Linked DNA regions of Homo sapiens: region 1 is linked to region 2. The links are contacts of gene promoters, found by promoter capture Hi-C in human tissues and cell types (Jung and others, 2019). All regions are on one chromosome and are shown on one strand. The core of a region is centred on a gene start or on the middle of the fragment in contact, and the rest is flanking DNA. Distances in the headings are between cores, read along the strand shown.

The links. The method cuts DNA at HindIII sites, captures the fragments that hold promoters and counts their contacts. A contact is called where the count stands out against the background at its distance.
Region 1: a contact is called between a fragment that was not itself captured here and the fragment with the promoter of APPBP2 in region 2, in 1 of the 25 tissues and cell types used here (hippocampus).

The regions. Positions count from the first base shown.
Region 1 is chr17:60,660,697-60,667,063 of GRCh38, reverse strand. It overlaps PPM1D (protein phosphatase, Mg2+/Mn2+ dependent 1D), which reads right to left. Exons shown (of 6, transcript NM_003620.4): 6 at 784-4,069. The coding sequence ends at 3,512. It also overlaps the pseudogene RNU6-623P. Among named protein-coding and RNA genes, the nearest start is that of BCAS3, 14 kb to the left of the region's middle. The HindIII fragment of the contact is 6,894 bases long and covers 1-5,515 here.
Region 2 is chr17:60,523,883-60,530,313 of GRCh38, reverse strand. APPBP2 (amyloid beta precursor protein binding protein 2) reads left to right here and starts at 4,072. Exons shown (of 13, transcript NM_006380.5): 1 at 4,072-4,520. The coding sequence starts at 4,383. RefSeq lists a silencer at 4,243-4,382 and enhancers at 4,463-4,732, 4,453-5,161. The HindIII fragment of the contact is 9,879 bases long and covers 1-4,894 here.

The sequences.
Region 1 (6,367 bases), core at 819-3,318, 140 kb before region 2:
TTGTGTAAGAGACAGGGCCTAACTATGCTGTCCAGGCTGGAGTCCAATAGCTATTCACAGGTGTGATCATCGCACACTATAGCCTGGAACTCTTGGGCTCAAGCAATCCTCCCACCGCAGCTTCCTGAGTAGCTAGGACTACAGGAATGCACCACCATACCCAGCTTGCTTTCTTTTAACTTTTTTTCCTTTTGCTAAAACTTTTGTTACTTTTATTATTTATTTTTGAGGCAGTGTCTCACTCTGTTGCCCAGGCTGGTGTGCAGTGGTGTGATCACGGCTCACTGAAGCCTCAACCCCCTGGGCCCAAGTGATCCTCCTACCTCAGACTCCAGAGTAGCTGGGACTACAGGCACATGCCACCACACCTGGCTAGTAACGTTCCTACATTCCACTTTTAGTCATAGAACATTGATTCTAAGTAGTCTATAAGTGTATGTACATTGTAATCCCTAATGCAACCACTAATACTGCCTAAATATTTTGTCTCTAAGATTAAAATTTGCCTAGCACTTTGGGAGGCCGAGGCAGGAGGATCACTTGAGGCCAGGAATTTAAGACCAGCCTGAGCAACACAGTGAGACCTTGTCTCTAAGGAAATTTTTAAAATCCACCAGGTGTGGTGATATGCACCTGTAGTCCCAGCTACTCAGGAAGCTGAGATGGGAGGATCACTTGAACCCAGGAGTTAAAGGTTACAGTGACCTATGATTTTGCCACTGCACTCCACATCAGCCTGGGGACAGTGAGACCCTGTTAAAAAAAAAAAAAATTATTCTCAACTTTGTTAGTGAGATAGTTTATTTAGGGACAAAATACATTAAGATGTTTTACTCCACTAGAGCAATCTTCCAGATGTCTGGAAGATGAAAATAACATTGTTCATTAATGCTATTACCAAAACATAACTATTGCACACCCTACTAAAACAATGTTATACACGCTGTATTTCAGAATATCAATGCTTTTAACTTCCAGGTTGTGACAGCCTCCTTCCAGATGACACTTAAAAATGCCCACCTCCTAGAATTCATGCCTTGTGTAGGAGTCTCCCACGTTGTAGTTGACTTGGTCTGTGTGACCAACAAAATACAGAATTGGTATGACACTTTCAGAGGCTAGGTTACAAAAAACATCATGGCTTCTTCCTTGCCCTCCGGTGTTGCTTGCTCTGGGGACAAATAACTGCCATGTTGTGAGAGGCCCTCTGGAGGGGAACATGTGGCAACAAACTGAGGTCTCCTGCCAACAGCTGTGAGTCTTGCGGGAAGCAGATCTTCTAGCCCCAATGACACCTTCGAAAGATTGTAGCCCTGGTTGGTAGCTTGACCAAAACCACGAGACTATCACCCAGCTAAACCACTCTCAGATTTCTGAGGCTCAGAAACTGGAGATAATATTTGTTGTTTTAAACTGCTAAATTTCGAGATATTGTTTTGTAGCAATGAATACATATTTTAATCCTTGTGGCATAAGACACACCGATCAAGAATTATCTTCTGCAAAATATTGAAAATAACCAGAATGTGTGGACATGGTTAAATAATGGCATAGTTGGCTGGGCACGGTGGCTCACACCTGTAATCCCAGCACTTTGGGAGGCCTAGGCTGGTGGATCATGAGGTCAAGAGATCAAGACCATCTTGGCCAACATGATGAAAACCCATCTCTACTAAAAATACAAAACTTAGCCAGGCATGGTGGCACGCACCTGTAGTTCCAGCTACTCAGGAGGCTGAGACATGAAAATCACTTGAACTGAAATGTAAGAAATACATTGAAAGCATAAAACTCAGGCCGGATGCGGTGGCTCACGCCTGTAATCCCAGTACTTTGGGAGGTCGAGGCGGGTGGATCACGAGGTCAGGAGATCAAGACCAGCATGACTGACATGTGAAACCCCATCTCTACTAAAAATACAAAAATTGGCTGGGCACAGTGGCGCGTGCCTGTAATCTCAGCTACTCAGGAGGCTGAGGCAGGAGAATCGCAGGAACCCAGAAGGCAGAGGTTGCAGGGAGCCGAGATCACACCACTGCACTCCAGCCTGGATGACAGAGCTAGACTCCATCTCAAAAAAAAAAAAAAAAATTAGCCGGGTGTGGTGGCACACACCTGTAATCCCAGCTTCTGGGGAGAGAGATTGAGGCAGGAGAATCACTTGAACCCGGGAGGCAGAGGTTGCAGTCAGCCGAGATCACGCCACTGCACTCTAGCCTGGATGACAGAGTGAGACTCCATCTCAAACAAACAAACAAAATAATAAATAAATAAAATACACTCACTGTAAAGCATGATCATGGCACAACAGAATGTTAATCCAGGTTAAGCATCCCTAATCTGAAAATCCAAAATCCAAAATGCTCCAGAATCAGAAACTTTTTCAGAGCAGGCATGATGCTCAAAGGAAATGCTCATTAGAGCATTTTGAATTTCAGATTGGGAACACTCAAAAGCTCAGTATAAAGCAAATATTCCAAAATTTTAAAAAATCTGAAACACTTCTGGTCCCAAGCATTTTGGATAAGGGATACTCAACTTGTACATACCATTAAAATAAACCAACAACTACAAATTCAGCAACATGAGGAACAGTTCACTGATTTATTAGATGAATATATACCCATATAATCAATGAAAACTGTATGATATAAAATAATTTAAGAAATGTTGGGAATTAGCAGCACCATCTGTTATTGAAATAGCAAGGAAAACTTCACATATTTTAAGCAAACACGAGAAGGGAGTAACTACTTTAAGACCTAATAATGCCATTGGTCTGGGATGAAAAAGAAGGGAATTGTTTTAGATTGTTTTAGGCAAACACACTTCCTTCTATGCTGAAGATTTAGTAAGCATATCTGATGACTAAGGTTTTAGAAAAATGCTACTGATGTAAGAGATACTGCATAGTATTTTAATTGGGACAAGACTAACTGTAGCATGGCTCAACACTTCTATGAAAAATTTAGTTCTGAATTATGAAATCAGAAATAAAAAATAATGTTTAAAAGACACTTGGCTCTAAGAAACATTAAGTGAAACACAGGTCACTATGAAAATACATCACTTTTCCAGTCTGCTTAATAATTTACTTTAAAAAGTTGCACAGTTTTCAAGACAAGTGGCTTATACAAATTTTTTAATAAGTATTTTAAAAAGTTTAAATGTTTTTCTAAAATCTAATAGATTCTTTTGATTTCTTTAAACATTTAGCCCTATTGTCACAATTACTGTGTATCAGAGACTCTGAATACTGTGTATTCAGAGACTGAATTTGTGTGGATACAAATTTACACAAATTTTACAGCAACTTATACCCTAACATCTACAAAATCCACATTTACAATACAAGCAAGTACAAGGCCAGGATAAAACTGCTGAATTCCAAAAAGTCAAACTGTATATTTCTTTTAATTTTCTCCCCTTAAAAAAAGTTCAACATCGGCACCAAATTTAAAAAGCCCTCTTATATCCTAAGTTTGGAAAAACCTCATTTCCCAGATGCATTTCAGCAAACACAAACAGTTTTCCTGTGTTGATGAAGTAAAGGATTTCCAATTTTCTTCTGGCCCCTAAGTCTGCGTCGCATGGTGAGTTTAACAGAGTTCTTTCGCTGTGAGGTTGTGGGGAGACTTGCAGGCTGAGCACCACTACTTCGACTTAAGCCATTTCGTCTATGCTTCTTCATCAGGGGGCCAGAATTGGACTCTTCTAATGTCCTTTTAAAGTTTGTTGGAGGGGTTCTTTCAATTTCTTGGGCTTTCATTTGGCCAGGAGTTGACATCTTCAAATTTTTTTGGTCCATGACAGTGTTTGTTGAATTAGTAGGCACAAGGCCAATTGGAAGGCTATTATTCAAAGAATCATGTATCCTTAAAGTCAGGGCTTTAGCGCAATTTTCTTCAAGTGGTTCTGGATCTTTTGAGGGTATGACTACACCTTGGACATTCTCTCGAGCTATCTCAGCTGAAACCTCTAAAAAATTCTCTGAGAAGGCATTGCTACGAACCAGGGCAGGTATATGGTCCTTAGAATTCACCCTTGGCCATGGATCCTCCTCCAGTGACTGAAAAATAAGAAGGTAAAACAAATAAGAAAAAATTTATCCCAGAACTCAACAAATCTATGCATGTGATATTAGGCTTCTTATGAAGCTAGTAGGATGGCAAAAACGGGGTATGCATTCACTAATTCGTTCACCTTCTATTTACTGAACTATGTGTTAAGGTTTAATGGGAGGAACCTGAGTGAGAAGACAATATAAAGGTAAGAATGACATTGAATTCTGTCTTCAGGGTAATAGATGAAATTATAAAGTAATCTATTCAAGTGGGTGAAAATTCACGTGGTCACAAGCATTTTCTATCCATTGGCAGGTAAACAAAAATAAGATACATTAAGGAACAAGATTTCAAAACAAACCCTCAAAATTAACCATAGGCACACATTCACTCTTCCACTATTCTGTACTCAAACATGGAGAAGATCAAAAGTATCGCATTCTCTGTGTGCATTTTAATTTACTTTTGGTAATAACATAATGCTGATGAAATCGCTCTATTTTTCATAAAAGTCATATTTTTCCATAAGAACCATCAAAAAATTGCTTTAAGATGCCATTAAGTGCTTACTACAGCAGCACATATACTAAAATTGGAATGATACAAAGAAGATTAGCATGGCCCCTGTGCAAAGATGACACAAATTCATGAAGCGTTCCCTATTTCAAAAAAGAAAAAAAAGCTTTTAAAGATCTCAATTTTTGGCCGGGCACACTGGCTAACCCCTGTAATCCCAGCACTTTGGGAGGTCGAGGCGGGCAGATCATTTGAGGTCAGGAGTTCAAAACCAGCCTGGCCAACATGGTGAAACTGCGTCTCTACTAAAAATACAAAAATTAGCCAGGCATGGTGGTGTGCACCTGTAATCCCAGCTACTCTGGAGGCTGAGACAGGAGAACTGCTTGAGCCCAGGAGGTGGAGGCTGCAGAGAGCAGAGATCGCACCACTGCACTCCAGCCTGGGTGACGGAGTGAGACTCCGTCTCACAATAAATAAATAAATATTAAAATTAAAAATAAAAATCTGAATTTTCTAGTAATGAAAACCAGTGTAACCACTGGAGGGGATGGTAGCATCTCAGTAGGATAAGCAACAAATTTGTAGTTTTTTGGTTTATCCTATCTCCTAAATTCTAATTTCTGAGTATGTAGTGTGGAAAGCATTACAACATTAAAGCACATCATTAAAGCAAAGTACAACATTAAAGCAACTATGTCATAATGGTCATAATGGAAACTCAGAAGAATGCTGCTTTGCACCCATCCTGCAAACACTAGATACTGCTCTGTGATTTGAGAAAAGTAGTACACATGGGACCATTCTGAGAATGGTTAGGGAAATTCCCAATTGATGAAAACAAATGAGAATTATCCAAGGCACTTTATTGTTTTTAAAAATGCTGTTTTCACAACGCTTCATGTCAATCTAGATATGCACCACTACTTTGAGTGTAGTGCTCTAAATCTACATATACTCAGAATAGCCGCTCACCTCCAGATAAGAACATTCTTACTATCAAACCCAGCTCTTCCAAAGTAATAACATTTCATAAAATCATTGTCTTAATACTTTATCAAGGTCCAGAGTTAAAGCATAAATACTCTCTCCCCCAAACATGTAAAATTTTCCTCAAGTGGACTCTCAATCAAATGTATCAAAATATTAATAGATTCTGAAAAGCCCAAGCAGAGCAGCAAATGAAGACGTATTTATCTGATCTTTCTCCGAAATAAAATCTCCTATAAATAAACACCTTTCCTTTTTTTTTTTTTTTTTTTTTGAGATGGAGTTTCGCTCTTGTTGCCCAGGCTGGAGTGCAATGGCACAATCTTGGTTCACCACAACCTCTGCCTCCCAGGTTCAAGGGATTCTCCTGCCTCAGCCTCCTGAGTAGCTAGGACTACAGGCATGCGCCACCATGCCCAGCTAATTTTTTTTTTGTATTTTTAGTAGAGACAGGGTTTCTCCATGTTGGTCAGGCTGGTCTCGATCTCCTGACCTCAGGTGATCTGTCCGCCTCGGCCTCTCAAAGTGCTGTGATAACAGGCGTGAGCCACTGCGCCCAGCCTGAATATACAACTTTCTTAGAAGTGCTATATAAAAGTATACTTATCATAGGAATGTTTCCTTTAATTTGTCTAGAGTTAAAAACAAAGGGAAATAAGGGAGGCAGGGAGGTTCAAAAAATAAAATGAAAGGGAAATTGAAGGCATCCAGAAGCTTCCTTTTTTCTTTTTTTGAGGCCGAGTCTTGCTCTGTCACCCAGGCTGGAGTGCAGTGGCGCGATCTCTGTTCACTGCAAC
Region 2 (6,431 bases), core at 2,823-5,322:
CTTTTTAATTATTTCGATTTATTTGTTAAGTTTATCTGATAGAATTCTGAATTCCTTCTTTCCATTATCTTGAATTTCTTTGAGTTTCTTCAACATGGCTATTTTGAATTCTGTCTGAAAGGTCTCATATGTCTGTTTCTCTAGGACTGGTCTCTGGTGGTTTCTTTAGTTCATTTGGTGAGGTCATGTTTTCCTGGATGGTGCTGATGCTATAGATATTCTTCACTCTCTGGGCATTGAAGAGTTGGATATTATCAGTCTCCAGTGTCTGGGCTTGTTTGTACTTGTCCTTCTTGGGAAGGCTTTCCAGGTATTTCAAAGGACTTCACTACTGTGATCTAAGCTGTATCTGCTTTAGGGGGCACCTCAAGCCTAGTAACGCTGTGGTTCTTGCTGACTTGTAGAGGTACCACCTTGGTGTTCATGGGTAAGATCCAAGGGAATTCCCTGGATTACCAGGCAGAAACTCTTGTTCTCTTCCCTTACATTCTTTAAACACAAACAGTCTCTCTCTCTGTGCTGAGCTGCCTGGAGCTGGGGGAGGGATTACCCCGAACCCAATAACACTGTAGTTCTCTGAAGTTCTTGCAGACTCTTAGGGGTACCACCTTGATGGTCAAGGACAGCATCTGGGAGAAATTCTCTGGATTACCAGGCAAAGACTCTTGTTCTCTTACCTTACTTTCTCCCAAACAAATGGAATTTCTCTCTCTGTTCTGAGCCACATAAAGCTGGGAGTGGAGTGACAGAAGTACCTCTGTGGCCACCCCCACTATGACTGGACTGGGTTAGAGATGAAGCCAGCATAGCATTGGGTCTCACCCAAGACCTGCTGTAACCACTCCCTGGCTACTGCTTATGTTCACTCAAGGCCCTGGGGCTCTACAATTAGCAGATGGCAAAGCCATCCAGGCGTGTGTCCTTCCCTTCAGGGTGGCGAGTTCCCCCAGGCCCTGGGTAGGTCCAGATGTACAGTCCAGGAGTCAGAGACTAGAGTAAAAAATCTCAGAAGTCTACCTGGTGTTATACTGTATTGCAGCTGAGCTGGCTCTCAAACCGTAAGACACAGTCCTTCCTACTCTTCCCTTTCCTTCCCAAAGGGAGACTAGCCTCACTCTGTAACCACCATCACCACAGGCCACAGGGAGTACTGCCAGACTTCCACGGATGTTTCCTTAAGGCCCACGGCCTCTCAAGTCAGTGTGTGGTGAATGCTGTCTGGGCAGAGACTCAACCGTCAGGGCAGAAGGCTCTACTCTGGACCAGGGCAGGTCAGAAATGCCATTTAGGAGTCAAGTCCTGGAATCAGGAACCCCAAGGGCCCACTTGGTGCTCTACCCCTCTGTGGCCATGCTGGCATCTGAAGCCAGCAAGTCTCAGAGGTTCACCCAAGGTCCTCAACATAGTATCTGGGTATATCTGCTGGTCATTTAGGGCCCAAGGGCTCTTCAGTTAGAAGGTGATGAATACTGCCAGGACTAAGTCCTTCTCAGGGGACTTATCCTTTCTGGCAGTTTATCTGCTCTTGGTCACGACCTCCTAGTCCATCATACACATCTGAATAACTTTCAATCTGAAAGCAGTGAAGAAGGGATCAAGAGGCCCTTCCATCCAGAGTCCCCTTTGTGACTATATACATTTTTTAATGTCTAACTCAGTCATATGGTTTTGCTCTGTGTCCCCACCCAAATCTCATCTTGAATTGTACTCTGATAATTCCCACGTGTTGTGGGAGGGACCCAGTGGGAGATCACTGAATCATGGGGGTGGTTTCTCCCACGCTGTTCTTGTGGTAGTCTCATGAGATCTGATGGTTTTATAAGGAGAAACTCCTTTCGGTTGTCTCTTTTTGCCTGCTGCCATCCACATTAAGATGTGACTTGCTCCTCCTTGCCTTCCACCATGATTGTGAGGCCTCCTCAGCCATGTGGAACTGTAAACCCAATAAACCTCTTTCTTTTATAAATTGCCCAGTCTCAGCTATGTCTTTATTAGCAGTGTGTAAACGGACTAATACACTCAGCATCTAAGGTCCATAAAGCAATCAATATGTGTGTCTGACACACCTTTACCTGTTTACAGGAGCTTAATACGGGTCCTGATTTAGCCAAAATGTCCAAGAACATGTGCATTCAATGTTAGGGGATTCATGGATCCCTTTAGGTAGGATTGCTGGATAAAATACAGGTGTCCAGTTAAATGTGAGTTTCAGATGAACAACAAAGTTTTTTGTTGTTGTTGTTTTCTGAGACAGGGTCTCATTCTGCCACCCAGGCTGGAGTGCAGTGGCATGATCATGGCTCACTCAACATTCTGGGCTCAAGTAATCCTCCTGCCTCAGCCTCCTGAGTAGCTAGGACTACAGGTGCACACCACCACATGTGGCTATTTTTTTTTTGTAGAGATGGGGTCTTGCTATGTTGCCCAGGCTGGTCACAAATAAGTTTTTAGTATAAATATGTCCCCTGCAATATTTGCAGAGATAATAATTATTCTTTTATGTGGGGCAGGGATCCTGATCTTCAAAAGCGCCAGTGTCTAAGAAGTGATGAAGGATTTGCTGAATGAACTGATACACTTGAGTGGCTCCGAAGGCATGAGCAAAACTATTGCACAGAACATACTTACATTTCAAAACCATTTGTTGTTTATCTGACATTAAGATGTGACTGGGCACTTGTAATTTTTTTTTTCTTTTTTTTGAGACGGAGTCTCGCTCTGTTGCCCAGGCTGGAGTGCAGTGGCGCGATCCTGGCTCACTGCAAGCTCCGCCTCCCGGGTTCACGCCATTCTCCTGCCTCAGCCTCCCGAGTAGCTGGGACTACAGGCGCCCGCCACCACGGGCTAATTTTTTGTATTTTTAGTAAAGACGGGGTTTCACCGTGTTAGCCAGGATGGTCTCGATCTCCTGACCTCGTGATCCACCCGCCTCGGCCTCCCAAGTGCTGAGATTACAGGTGTGAGCCACCGCGCCCAGCCTTGTAGTTTTTTACTTGCTAAACTGGCAATCTGATCTTGAGGCCATCCACAGCTTTCCTAGGTTCACAGTATAGAGTAAGAATTTATATAGACTGAAGAAGATTAAGAGTGTTTATTTTTTGTGGAATTATTTAACCACTTAACACTGAAGTACCAGGTGAAGGGTAAATTGAAATAACTCTTTCCACTTCTTTTAGCTCTAAATATCAATCAGGACATTATTATTATGGCTGTTTTCTGGACTTACATCGTTATAGAGTGACTATGAGTTTGATAGTGTCACCAACAATTATGGCCAATAATTTCCATGGTAAATTCCTAGAACAGAAAGATGTTGCATCAAATTCTTGAAATCGCAGACTTAGGAAATTAAGTTACATAAACAGCAGATGTTCAGGCTGAGGAAGGAAAGAAGCTGAAACAAGTACTCCCAATTATTCAACAATCCCTTGAAGCCGCCACTGTAACTCTGGGAATTGAAATACCATTAAGTCCTATCACGGCCACCACTTAGCCTTTTTTCTCTTACTATTATTTGTAATTCCATAATCAAGCTAGTTTTCCTACGAAGTTCTGGGGCAGGAGTTTTCTTTTTTCGGAAATTTCATTTGGATAAAGAAACATGGTCAAAAAGTTACAACGGTGCAAATGGTTATACAAAGAAAAACAAGTCTCTCTTCTATCGTTACCCCTAGTTCCTGGACCGCGGGTTCTTAACTTGGGTTAGGAACTGCAGTCTAAGGGTTTCTAGAGTAATGTGAATTTTCTCAATGCATAATTTTCAATGTACAGATAATTTTGCTCGTTTGTGGGGAGAGGATCCAAACTTTTACCTGAGCCTCAAAAGGGTCCGTGATGCAGAGAACCTGCTGAAGTAACCGATGGCCCCGAGTGACTCGGAACAGGGGGCGCAGATATCCTGTAATAATTTGTCCCCGTGTGAAAAGTCTACCCCTATCCACTCCACTCCACTCCACTCCGGGGCCGCTTGGAAGGGACGCTCTCCGTGGGAGGCATCCAGCTCTTCCTAAGTTTTCCGCCTGCCGCATTCCTCCCCTCCGGCGCGCCGGCGTGCGCTTACGTCATGACGCCGCACACGCAGCCCCGCCCCTGCAGAGATCAGCGCTGGGACGGAACCCGGGTTCCTCTCGAACCGGGATTGTGACGCTTTTGGCCTGGCTGGCCGCTGTTTTCTGTCCCACTTTTTACTCGGGCCTGCGTCCGCTGCCGCCGTCCCTCAGTTTGCCCCCGGAGGAGGCAGGGCGGCCGTGCCTTCTGCCGTGCGCCCGCGTGGCTGCCACCGCCCCTCCGAATCCTCCGGGGCCGCAGAGGGGTTCGCTACGGAGGGAGGTGGGGGCCTTCGGGAGGAGGAGGCGGAGGAGGCGGAGGAGGAGGGAAGGAAGATGGCGGCCGTGGAACTAGAGTGGATCCCAGAGACTCTCTATAACACCGCCATCTCCGCTGTCGTGGACAACTACATCCGCTCCCGCCGAGACATCCGCTCCTTGCCCGAGAACATCCAGTTTGATGTTTACTACAAGGTATGCGCCGTGGGCCTCCTCTCTGCTCTCCTCCAGCAACCCCGGGGGCCGCACCCCCTTCCACGTCTGCGAACCCCCGCAGTTAACCCCTCACCCCTTCCGGCAGACTTGCCTCCCGAAACGTCTGGTGCGGTGTCTGCATTGCCAGTGGAGAAGCACCCCATCTCCCTATGCCCTGTCTCTTAAGCTTTGGGGCCTTGAAGTAATCTTGGGGAGTCTTGCTCCCTGTTGGTGTTCCCTTCTACACAGTGGCCCTCTTGGGTAGGCCTTTTGCGTGGACTTACTCTATCGCGCCCCTGTCCCACCTAGTCCTTTCCTTCTAGCCCGTATCTTCAGGATATTTTCCATCCTCTCCTTCCAATTAAGTGTCAGCATCAGCTGGACTTTTTTCCGTGCTCCTCCCCCCACCCATTCCTACTTTCTCATCTCGCCGCCTTCCTTCCCCGAGTGTTTTGGTGTTTTTGCTTCGTGTTCCTTCGTTTCTCCTTTCTTTTCCCAATTGGGAAGGAGTTAGGGATTATTGGAAATAATCTGTGTGTTTTATTTGCATATTCTTTAAAGCTTTGATTTTTTTGTGGGAGAGGAGGGGCTCTATACTTGAATTAGGGATTTTGTGAAAATGGGAGTGCTGATCAACTGTTTGAAGAGGACAGGGAGAGATCTTTACTGAAAGAAAAAAACACTTTAGATTATGTTCCTGTGTTTGAAAGTTGCAATCTTGCAGCATTCTTAAATCACTCCCCCTCAAAAATCTGAACAGCAAGTCTCCCAAGCCACTCTCCAAGGAGTTTCAAGGGTAAGTGTCCTTAGATGTGGACTATTTTTGCAGTGTTTTCAGAGTGTGGAGAACTTTATGGACTCAGAGCCTGCCCTTTTCTCTCCCCCACATTTGAATGTGAACACTGGATTTATTATTCAGTCTTCCTTGTCTTGAATCCGCGTCGATAACTCCTAGTGTCCAGTAGCCACCCATGCAAAATGTGACTAAAAGTAGAATGTAATTTATTTTTTAGACCTTAAATACTTCCTCTTGATCTGTAAGTTGGCTGGAACAGTGTAAACTGATATTTTAACAGATGTTTATGTTCTTACGTATGTACAGTGTTTTGTGGCAGTTGTTTTATTGGGAAGATTGCCTGCTTTCTCCACCCCTAGATTTTTTTTTTTTTTTTTTTTTTTTTTTCAGAATTAGCAGTTGATGGGCTGCGTTCTACTAAATCCAGCTGCTTTGCACCAATTCTAACAATTAAAGTGGGGTTTCCCCCCTAAATATTTGGAGAAGATTCATTTAGGTCATGCGTATTATTATTTTGGATTTCGAGAAAAAGCTCCCTTTTTTCCTAATCCCTTTGATACATTGATTTACTTTTGTGTATTCTAAGGAAATTTTGTTCATTTAAGATACATTCCTCCCCAGGAAGGACAAATTAGATTTGTCTTTCTCAGCCTGGGAAACTGCAGCTTTGTGTGTGCTCTCTGTCCATTTTATTAAATCATGTGTAATCTTGTACCTCATATGTAATCTCTCAGAGGAAATCATTGGGAATGTAATCCAAGTGTATTTACTAGTTGAATTCGTTCAAAATACTTGAATATCTTTTAGTAACTTTCACTTCTAATTGAAGCTTTTCATTTGAAGATTATTAGTATGAATAGATGGTGCTTTTGTTAGAATTTCTGTTTCACATAGTTCACACAGTTTTAATATTGCTCCTTTTTGGTACACTTTTACTTCTTAATAGTTGTATGCTTATTGGGAGTATGGCACTGTGCTAAGATGAGGGAAGTGTTAAACATGTGCCTGTAACTATGTTGTGCTTTTATGTGTTATTTTGTTTAATCTTCAGAATTAAACTGTGAAGTAGAGTACAGTATAACCTTGCTTTATTGGTGAGAAAGTTAAGTAATTTA